2 separate regions of the Homo sapiens genome follow, and region 2 is linked to region 1. Evidence: promoter capture Hi-C in human tissues and cell types (Jung and others, 2019). All regions are on one chromosome and are shown on one strand. Each heading gives the region's core, a stretch centred on a gene start or on the middle of the fragment in contact. The rest is flanking DNA. Distances are from core to core; before and after follow the strand shown.

Region 1 (5,177 bases), core at 1,762-4,261:
GCAGGGGCCAGATTCTGCTGGGACCACAGGCTGTGCAGGCACTCATGCTACTCTCCACATATTTCAGCTCTGCCTTCCAGGCACGAGGTGGGATTATACTTCCTGGCCCTCTTGGGTGGGACTGTGGGGCCAGTTCTGGCCAATGGATTGTGACCAGACATGATCCATTGTGTCTGGGCTGAGCGATTGATGGCTGGTGGGTGCACCTCTGGAATGGCTGCTGTCAGGCTGGGTCCTCAAGTGAGGGTGACCTGGAGTCATAGACCCATGATGGACAAATGAGAAACAAACCTTTGTTGATTTAAGTCACTGAGATTTGGGGACTATTTGTTACGACATCCCCTAATCTATCCTGACTCTTACATAGACCATTCCATTCTGGCTGAAGAGAGAGGGGCAAGAAGAGAAGTGAACAAAGCAGCCAACTGAGCAGAAAAGACCCTTCCTTTCCTGTATCTCAAACCTCATTTCCCAAATTCAAATCCCAGAGTAGAAACTGTAGCAGGAGAAAAGATGAGGACACGGACGTTGAAACCAAACCTCCCAAGGATGCATCTTAGCTAACCCTGCAGTCTATTGGATAAGGTTGGCCCTGAGCAATCAGGCACTTCCTCTCCCTACGCCTCAGCTACTGCATCTGCATAATGGGAATAATAATGTTTCTTTAACAGGACTGCATGTGAGGATCAAGCCAAATTATAAATGTATGCAAGGACATAGTGGTGTCCAGCATACTTTTTTTTTTTTTTTTTTTGAGACGGAGTCTTGCTTTGTCGCCCAGGCTGGAGTGCAGTGGCATGATCTTGGCTCACTGCAACGTCCGCCTCCCAGGTTAAAGCAATTCTCCCTGGCTCAGCCTCCTGAGTATCTGGGATTACAGGTGCCCACCACCACATCTGGCTGTGTGTGTGTGTGTGTGTGTGTGTGTGTGTGTGTGTGTGTGTATTTTTAGTAGAGATGGTGTTTCGCCATGTTGGCCAGGCTGGTCTCAAACCCCTGACCTCAAGCGATCCACCCACCTCAGCCTCCCAAAGTGCTGGGATTACGGTGTGACCCACCACACCCGGCCATCCCTTTAGACAGAGCATACACTATTATAATGTCATCTTATACCCCAGCCCTCAATCCTCTTCCTTCATCCTCAGCCACCAGCCTCCAGTGCCCAATCCCCAGTGGGCCCCAAGGGCAGATCCTGCCACTGACTCTCCTCTCCCACCCACCTCTTTCCTGCAGAGGCTGAAGAGGGGTGTTATGGTGCCAACAGGAGCAGCCTGGGCACACACTGCTCCTACACACACACACACACACACACACACACACACACACGAGACATGTGAGTTGATCAGGCCCTGACACCGTGTACATTCAAACTGCCCCGAAAGCAAAGTTCCCAAACCAGAAGGTGGTGAACACTTTCCCCTGGGCTCACATGAAGTCTAAAAAATTATTTTTTACTAGTTAAAAATTTTAAATCAGAATATTTCACATACGACGGCTTCTGTTGAAAATTTGGAAGATGCGGCTATACTGTGCCCCGGTCCCCTCCCCCGACAACCAGCACCTGGAGCAGAAAAGGCAGCTGCCCCTTGAGATGGGATCCTTGTGCCTGTCCCCAGCACTGCCCTTTGCCTCCCTGGCGATGGAGCCCAGCGTCTGTATGGTTGCCTCTGGAGCTTTAGCTGGTGTTTTTTATAGTAGACTTAAGAGGAAAGCAAAACATTTTTCATAACCCTTCTCTATCAAAAGTGGGAAACAAAAGACAGACCGAGAGAGGGCCTCGTGTCTCAAGAAATATAGGAGAGCTCATATCTCTTTGTGGAAGCAAGACCATCCCTTACATCGCCTAGCCTGCAGCGCCAATTTATATTATCGACCGGCCCCGTAGGCGTTTGAGTTTGCGACCCTGCCCTCACCCTGCTCATTCCCCTCCCGACCCAGACTAGGACCCTCTCTTTTTCCGATCACTCCCCCCAGGCACACCGCACGCGGCTGTCATTTCCTTTCTCCTTCAAGGCAGCCCTCTGTTTATTTTAACCCGATTAGGGAATGGGGGTGGGGCACAGGAGACTCCAGCAGCGGTCACTGCTGGAGGCTCCAGGAGACGACGTGACTTGACCAAGGTCACAGAGCTGGAAGGTGAAGTCGCCTGGACCCTACCCCCGGTCTCCCTAGCTGCCAAAGCCCAGCTCGTTCCTTTACACCCACGTCGCGGGCGCCGTGCGCTCTCGGGGCTCAAACACCGCGCGCCCAGTCGGGTGTGCTGCGCCTGAAGGTTGTTTTCCTTCGGCGAACGGCGCCGAGGGGTTAGGGAAACCTTGGGTCATGGTGTGAGGCGCGCCCCTGGAATCCACCAGCCTGCGAGGCTGGGACTGCGGGTGTCCCCGAGTCTGGCCTGCCAGCTCTGGTGGCCAGGGCACCTCTGCGCGCGGGCCAGGGCCCCGGGGCTCTCCCGCAGTCCCCTAACCAAGCCGCGGGCTGGCAGCGTACCGCGGCGCCCGGACGACCCCGGAGCGCGGCCGCGAGGAAAGGGCGGGGGAGAGGACTGCAGCGGAACCTGCCCGGGGCACCCCTGCCCTGGGCGGCTCTCCGCAGGCTGGCGCCGCGCCGGGGTCGCCGCAGCCCCGGGCCCCTCCCGGGCCACCTGTGCGCAGACTGGCGGGCCCGCGAGAGCCCGGATCCGGAGCACCGATCCACTCCGGGTTTCAGACTCCTGCCCCTGTCCCTGGAGACCCCGCGGGGCGGTGGGAGGCCTCCACGCCCACCACCCCAAGCCCCTCCCTGGGGGAGCCTCAGGCATCGCCCAGAGGGATTCCCGGTGCTGGGGGTGGCCCGCGCGCGCTGCGCGGGGCGGCCCGGCCCCTCCTTCCTTCCCCCGCCCCTCCCAGCCGCCGCCCCGCTCCGTCGCTCCAGTCCGGGTTTTGCGGCGCCCACCGGCCCGCTCTCCGGCTGCGGGCTCCGCGGCGCGGCTGGCTCGGTGCGCGGCGCGGCTGGCGCTGCGCTCCGCCCCGGCTGCATTGCTGCGCTCCCGTGCCCAAGGGAGCCACGCGCCGCGTGCGCCCGGCAGCCGGCCGCCCGGAGGCAGCGCAGTCCGCTGGCATGGGCCCCGGGGGCGCCCCGAGCTGGGGCTCCGGGCTGAGGCGCTAAAGCCGCCCTCCCGCCCGCGGGGCCCCGCGCCCGGCCCGCCCGCCTGCCCGCCCGCGGCCATGGCCGTCCGGCCCGGCCTGTGGCCAGCGCTCCTGGGCATAGTCCTCGCCGCTTGGCTCCGCGGCTCGGGTGAGTCACGCCGCGCGCGCTCTGGGGAGGCTTGCGGGGGACCGTGCGCGCGAACGCTCGCTGCTCTGGGGGTCCCTGACCAGCGCTGCCAGACCCGGCTGGGAGCCCCCCGAGGCCAAACTTTGCGAGGCGGGACGCGGGGGGCTCTTCTTGCTGCTGCGCAGCTTCCCCGCGCGCTCTCCCGGAAGCCTGGGTTCTGCCAAGTCCAGGAGCAGCTGTCAGCCCGCGGGGCTGGCGAGTGTAGACACCCCACGCCTCCGGGTGGGGGAAGTTTGCTGGTTGCCTGGGCCCGGAGCAGGGCTGGGGGTTTGGATCAACCCCAGGGAGCCTGACTTTGAGGATTCGAAGATTAGAGGGTTTTGAGCCTATCCCAGTGCCCAGGAAATGGGGGGTGCGGGGAACGTTTAAGATACCTCTTCCCGGTAGCATCTGCCCTAAACAGCCACTCACAATCTCCCAGCTTGGCACCTGGCCTCTGCCCACGTCCAGAACACAGTGTCCTCCTCTGTCCCCGCCACACACGCTCTCACACGCACACACTCAGGCGTGGAGGCGCATACACCAGCCCCCAGTCCTTGCAGCCAGCACAGTCAAAGCGCCGCGGTCCCGGTGGCCGGGGCTGTGGCTCCTGGCCTCCCTGGTGCGGGGGGCCAGAGTTGTGTGTGGTTGGTCCGCCAGTTTCCCCTTCTTCCTTAAACTCCATAGCCTTTCTTGGCCCCTGCATGCCCCATTGGTCACCCTAACCCACTGCTAACTCAGCCCTCAGCCCACCTCATTCCCTTGGGAGGGGCTTGGGGGGAGGAAGTTCCCCTGCATCCTTTGTCTGCTGTCCCTGAGCCTTCACCTAGGCTGAGCTGTGGGGGCCTCCTGATCTCTGCCCCCCATGCACTTAGCTGAGTTGAGCGTATGTGTCTGTGGTGGTGGGGGGTGGGTGCCATTTGTGTGGTCAAGGGGGCTTGAGGCTTACCCTGGCAATTCTCGATTCTTGCTGCCCCTAGAACCTGGGCGGTTACTCCCCAGCCTGGCCAGGCCGCTGCTTATAACAGGGGTGTTGGAAGGGAGCACTGGGGTTTCTGAGCTGCCAAACCAGATTGATCAGAGATCAATGAGTGGGAGCTCAGGAGCCAGCCTGATGATTGAGGCCGATGGCTGTTTCCTTAAAGGGTGTCTCTGCGCAGCGCATCCTGCACCCACCACTGCCTGACCGCCCGCCCCATCCTGCCTCCTCAGTACCCCTCTCTACTCCATCCCACCCCTTCTATCTCCCTTCTCCATCAGCACCCCTCTTCTTCCCCAGGGCCTCTCCTTCTAATCCTGACCAAGCTGAGAGGCTGAACTGCTGTTGGGTGTGTGTCCGTGTCCGCCACATGTGTGTGTTAGGGGCGTGTGTGCAGCTCCGCAGATGAGCACCCGGGTGCAGGTTGCACTGTTGTCCATGATGAGGTGGGGATATTAGTGCCCCACACACAGGTGGGGTGTTGCCTGACACCCAGTAGGTACCCTGGAAATGTTTTCTGAGTTGATGCTTTTGAGGGCTGTGTGGTCATAGCTGCATGTCGCCCACGTGAGCACGTGTGAAGGCTGTGGGTTGACATGTGTGCCCGGGTAACCAGGGGGGTTGGCATGGTGTGTGCAGCATTGGCATGTGTGTGCCCTGATGAACGTGTGTGATGACCAGCATGCCGCACGTGTGTGACGGCTGTGTGCAGTTGCACAGGTGAGCGTGTACAGATAAGGGGGCACAGGTACCGGTGAAGCAGGGTGCTGCGGCCTGGAGCGGGGGGTTGCCACAGGGACTCCTCAGGAGGCTGTGGGGGTGGGGAAACTGCATCCCTGGTTGGCAGGGCATCTGTTGAGGCCTGGCCCAAGGTTGCCCAGGGAGTCGGCAGGTGGGCACAGGTGCT
Region 2 (4,552 bases), core at 732-3,231, 34 kb before region 1:
CCATGTTCCCTCCGTGAGGAGAAGAGGAAGGGAAACAGAAAGTCATTTCCCCCATCTGGATAGTCCTATATTTAATGTCGAATGTCTAATGTGTCCTCGTTCTTCCTGTTCTTGACCAGCCTTTGGCTAAGAGAGACGTTCCCTGCTGCTCGAAGGTGGAAGGAAGGGTCGCCACCCACGGGCAGAGGGGGCTTCTCTTCTCCCCTCTGGGCCTGGATCGGCTGCCGGGACAGATAACCTCCTGTGTGGCGTGCCCACCCCTGGTGAGGCCCCCACAGTGGCTTTAGGGCTGGAGGGGCCCCTGAAGGCCAGCTTGTCCAGCACCTGGTTTTAGGGATGGGCAAACTGTGGCGCAGCAAACGAGTTCATTTGTCCGAGGCCACATCCCCAAGGGCCCCCAATCACCTGCTGTGAAAGGGGTTGAGCTCCTTCCAAGAGATAAAGGCCTGGATGTGAGCCCTGCCCCCCTTCTCCAGCCCATCTCCTGTCATTCCCTGCCTCACCTGAATGGCTGGGACAGCTCAAGCGGACTTGACCTTGGTTGGCGGCTGCTCCCGCCTGCCCATAGCCCCACACACTAGTCCCACGCTGTGCCTCAATTCCAGCCCACACTCACGCCAACCTCCCTCCTCCTCAGTTTGCTGGTCAGCTCCTTCTCATTCATGATGACTCAGCTCAGACACCCCATCCTCCAGGAAGCCTGTCCTGGTTTCCTCGAGCTGGGTTCCTTGACTCTTCTTGGTGCCTAAGCACATCTCTGTTACCTCTTGCCACATTCCTCGTGGTTCGTTTGAGGCCCGTCTTCCCACCAACACCACACAGAGCTTTTTGAGGGCTGAGAATAAACCCAAGTCATCTACGTCTCTCCAGGAACACGTGTTTATTAAATGAATGAATGAATGAATGAATGAACGAACAAACCAGAAGCTGGGTGACGGTCGCTGTCATGGAGTAGAAAGAAAGACTCTTGGGTTAGGGATCGGGACACCTGGATCTCTGCTGCTTATTATTTGTAAATCACTGGGCAAGCCTCTTACCTTCTAAGGCCTCAGTTTCCTCATCTGTAAAAGGGTACAATTTGGCTGTGTGTCAGTCAGCTGTTGCTATGTAGCAAACAACCACAAACTCTCAGAGGCAAACGGCAATAAACTTCGTAGATGTGCCTGACGTAAGATGGAGTCACATCCTGATAAACCCACAGAAAGTTAGAAATCTCGTAGGTGGAAAATGCACTTGATTCTCCTATCCTGGCAAACATCGTAGCTTAGCCTGGCCTAGCTTAAACGTGCTCAGAAGGTTTCTATCAGCCTACGTTGGGCAGCAACATCTAAAACAAAGCCTGTTTTATAATAATGTGTCAGATAGTTCATGTAATTTATTGAACACTATACCAAATGTGAAAATTGGGGGCTGGGCGCTTTGGCTCACGCCTGTAATCCCAGCACTTTGGGAGGCCAAGGAGGGTGGATCACCTAAGGTCGGGGGTTCAAGACCAGCCTGACCAACATAGAGAAAACCCGTCTCTGCTAAAAATACAAAAATTAGCCGGGTGTGATGGCGCATCCCTGTAATCCCAGCTACTTGGAAGGCTGAGGCAGGAGAATCACTTGAACCTGGGAGGCGGAGGTTGAGGTGAGCCGAGATAGCACCACTGCACTCCAGCCTGAGCAACAACAGCGCAACTCCGTCTCAAAAAGCCAGAGTAGTTTCTACTGAGCATGCATGGCTTTGCATCATTGTAAAGTTGAAAAATCGTAAGTCAGGGACCGGGTGTATGTGACTCCTACGTGTGCAGACTGCCTGGATGTTGGCAGCCCAGCCTGGGCTGCGCTGGGAGGGCGGTTGGGTCTGGCTCTGCTCCATTGTGTTTCTCATTTTTCTTGGACCAGTGGGGTGCCAGGCCGTGTCTTATGGTTATACCCAAAGTTAAAGGTCGAGGGGAACATGCAGCTCCTCGGGGGAGAAACTGCAAAGGGTATGGATACAGAGAGGGGTAAAAAATCGAGACCAATAAATCAAGCTACCCCTGACTCTGTGTTGCTGAGGTGGTCCAATCAGCCCTTCCCCCTCTTCTGTGGCTGCCCTGAGTCCTCCTGTCTGGGGAACTTCCCTAACCCCCATCTTCTTTCCGGTCAGCCTGGGCCCAGGTCTCTCCCCGTGGAAATTCTGGGAGCACAGTTTTGTGTCTTCTCTCCCAGCTCAGTCTGCAGTTTCCGCCCTGTACAAAACCTCCACTAAAATGTGCTCGCTCCTTCAGCAATAGCACAACTGCGGCTGGGCACCGTGGCTCACGCCTGTAATCCTAGCACTTTGGGAGGCCAAGGTGGGCAGATCACCTGAGGTCAGGCGTTCGAGGCCAGCCTGGCCAACATGGTAAAACCGCGTCTCTACTAAAAATACAAAAATCAGCTGCGCTTGATGGTGGGTGCCTGTAATCCCAGCTACTTGGGAGGCTGAGGCAGGAGAATCACTTGAACCCAGGAGGCAAAGGTCACAGTGAGCCAAGATCACCCCACTGCACTCTAGCCTGGGCAACAGAGCGAGACTCCGTCTCAAACAAACAGACAAACAAACAAAAGCACAACTGTCCATCTGTTCTCTCAAGCCTGAGACCCAGGCATTCGCCTTCCTCTCCCCGTGTCCAACATTGCACCAAGCCTGAGGATCTTCTCCTCGGTCCCTCCTGACCCTGACACCTCCTGTCCAGGGCCCCCGCCCCCACCCCATGCTCCTGGGGCCAGGCCCTGCCCCATCCAAATATGTTCTCTGTGCTGTCACCTGCAAAATCTTTGTGACAGGCAGATCTGACTGTGCCGGGGACATGTGGCTGGGTCCTCGCTACTAGTGGTGGGATCCAGGAAGGAAATATAAGGCAGTGAAGGGACTGGGTGAGTGTGACAGGTTGAATTGAACTGTGCCCCCAAAAAAGGTAGGCTAGAGTTCTAAGCCCTAGCACCTCAGCAGGTGACCTTATTTGGAGACAGGGTCCTTCCAGAAGTCATCAAGTTAAGGCGAGGTGACTAAGGCGGCCCCGATACAATGTGACTGGTATCTATAAAAAAGGAGAATTTGGACAAGACAGACAAACACAGGGGCAGATCATGTCAGACCACAGGGAGAATACCATCTACAACAATGCCTGAGGCTGCCAGAATCAAGAGCAGAGGCGTGGAACAGACTCCCCCTCACAGCCTTCAGAAGGAACCAACCCTGATGCCTAGATCCTGAACTTCACATTTCTGTCTTTTAGCCCCCTAGTTTGTGGTACGTTGTTACTAGGCAGCCCTGGGAAATTAATGCGGTGAGGGGTGGGGAGGACACCAAGCGGAACATTAGCACAGCCAGGGAATGGTATCTGGGTGGCAATAGGGAGCGGTGGGGACTCTGGCAAACTGGAGAGCCCATAGCCCAGTGGAAGCCGGCTCCAGCTGGTTGTTGCCGCGTGGGATTGCAAGCCTGAGCTTCAGACTCTCTAAAGAACCTGGAAATCTAGATTTGTATGTGAAATCATGAAATCACCTCATCTTTTAATGTTGGCTAAAAATACAAAAGAAAACAAAAATCTGTGGGACAAAATTGGCTGGAAGGCTGCCAGTCTGTGATTTTGGGCTTACAGCAAGGATCAACAAACTATAGCCCACAGCCCAAATCTGGCCTACCACCTGTTTTTACAAATAAAGTTTTATTGGAACAGAGCCGCGCTCACTCACTTACATACTGACTACACCTGCACTCCACAGTGGCAGTGAGAAGGTTCAGCAGAGACTGCAAAACCTAAAATATTTATTATCCTGTCTTTTTTTTTTTTTTTTTTTTTTGAGACGGAGTTTCACGCTTGTTGCCCAGGCTGGAGTGCAATGGTGCGATCTCAGCTCACCACAACCTCCGCCTCCCGGGTTCAAGCAATTCTCCTGCCTCAGCCTCCCAAGTAGCTGGGATTACAGGCATGTACCACCACGCCCAGCTAATTTTGTATTTTTAGTAGAGATGAGGTTTCACCATGTTGATCAGGCTGGTCTCAAACTCCCGACCTCAGGTGATCTGCCTGCCTCAGCCTCCCAAAGTGCTGGGATTACAGGTGTGAGCCACCTTGCCTAGACTATCCTGTCCTTTATAGAAGATGTTTGTCAGCCTCTGGCTTAGTTAAGAAATTTAACCCCTTCATCTTGCAGGAAACAACCTTGGCAATGAGGCTTCTGCTTTCTCATCCATCACACACTCTCACCACCCCTGGCCACCCCTCCCCAAATACACACACACGTTACTCTCCAGCAATAATGAACTACTTTAGTTCCCAGAGCAGTCCGTGCACATATGGGCTATATGTTCATCTGTGCCATCTACGCTGGCCCCTGGAAGGGTCCCATCTCCACTTGTCTGCCTGGCAAACCCTTCTAGCCTCGGCTCCAATGCTGCTTCTTTCATGTAGTCCTCCTGGGTTGCTCCTCCCACACTCCATTCATAGATTCTCCTAAAGCATCCATCTTGTTCTTGCTTGTGGAGTCCTGTGTCCTTGGGAGACCATAAGCATCTTGACAGCAGGGCAGGGTCT

The links. The method cuts DNA at HindIII sites, captures the fragments that hold promoters and counts their contacts. A contact is called where the count stands out against the background at its distance.
Region 2: a fragment that was not itself captured here is called in contact with the fragment with the promoter of UNC5A in region 1 in 3 of the 25 tissues and cell types used here (mesendoderm cells, spleen and thymus).

What each region holds. Positions count from the first base shown.
Region 1 is chr5:176,807,548-176,812,724 of GRCh38, forward strand. UNC5A (unc-5 netrin receptor A) reads left to right here and starts at 3,012. Exons shown (of 15, transcript NM_133369.3): 1 at 3,012-3,273. The coding sequence starts at 3,204. The HindIII fragment of the contact is 11,668 bases long and covers 1-5,177 here.
Region 2 is chr5:176,774,416-176,778,967 of GRCh38, forward strand. No RefSeq gene overlaps it. Among named protein-coding and RNA genes, the nearest start is that of LINC01574, 33 kb to the left of the region's middle. The HindIII fragment of the contact is 9,372 bases long and covers 1-4,552 here.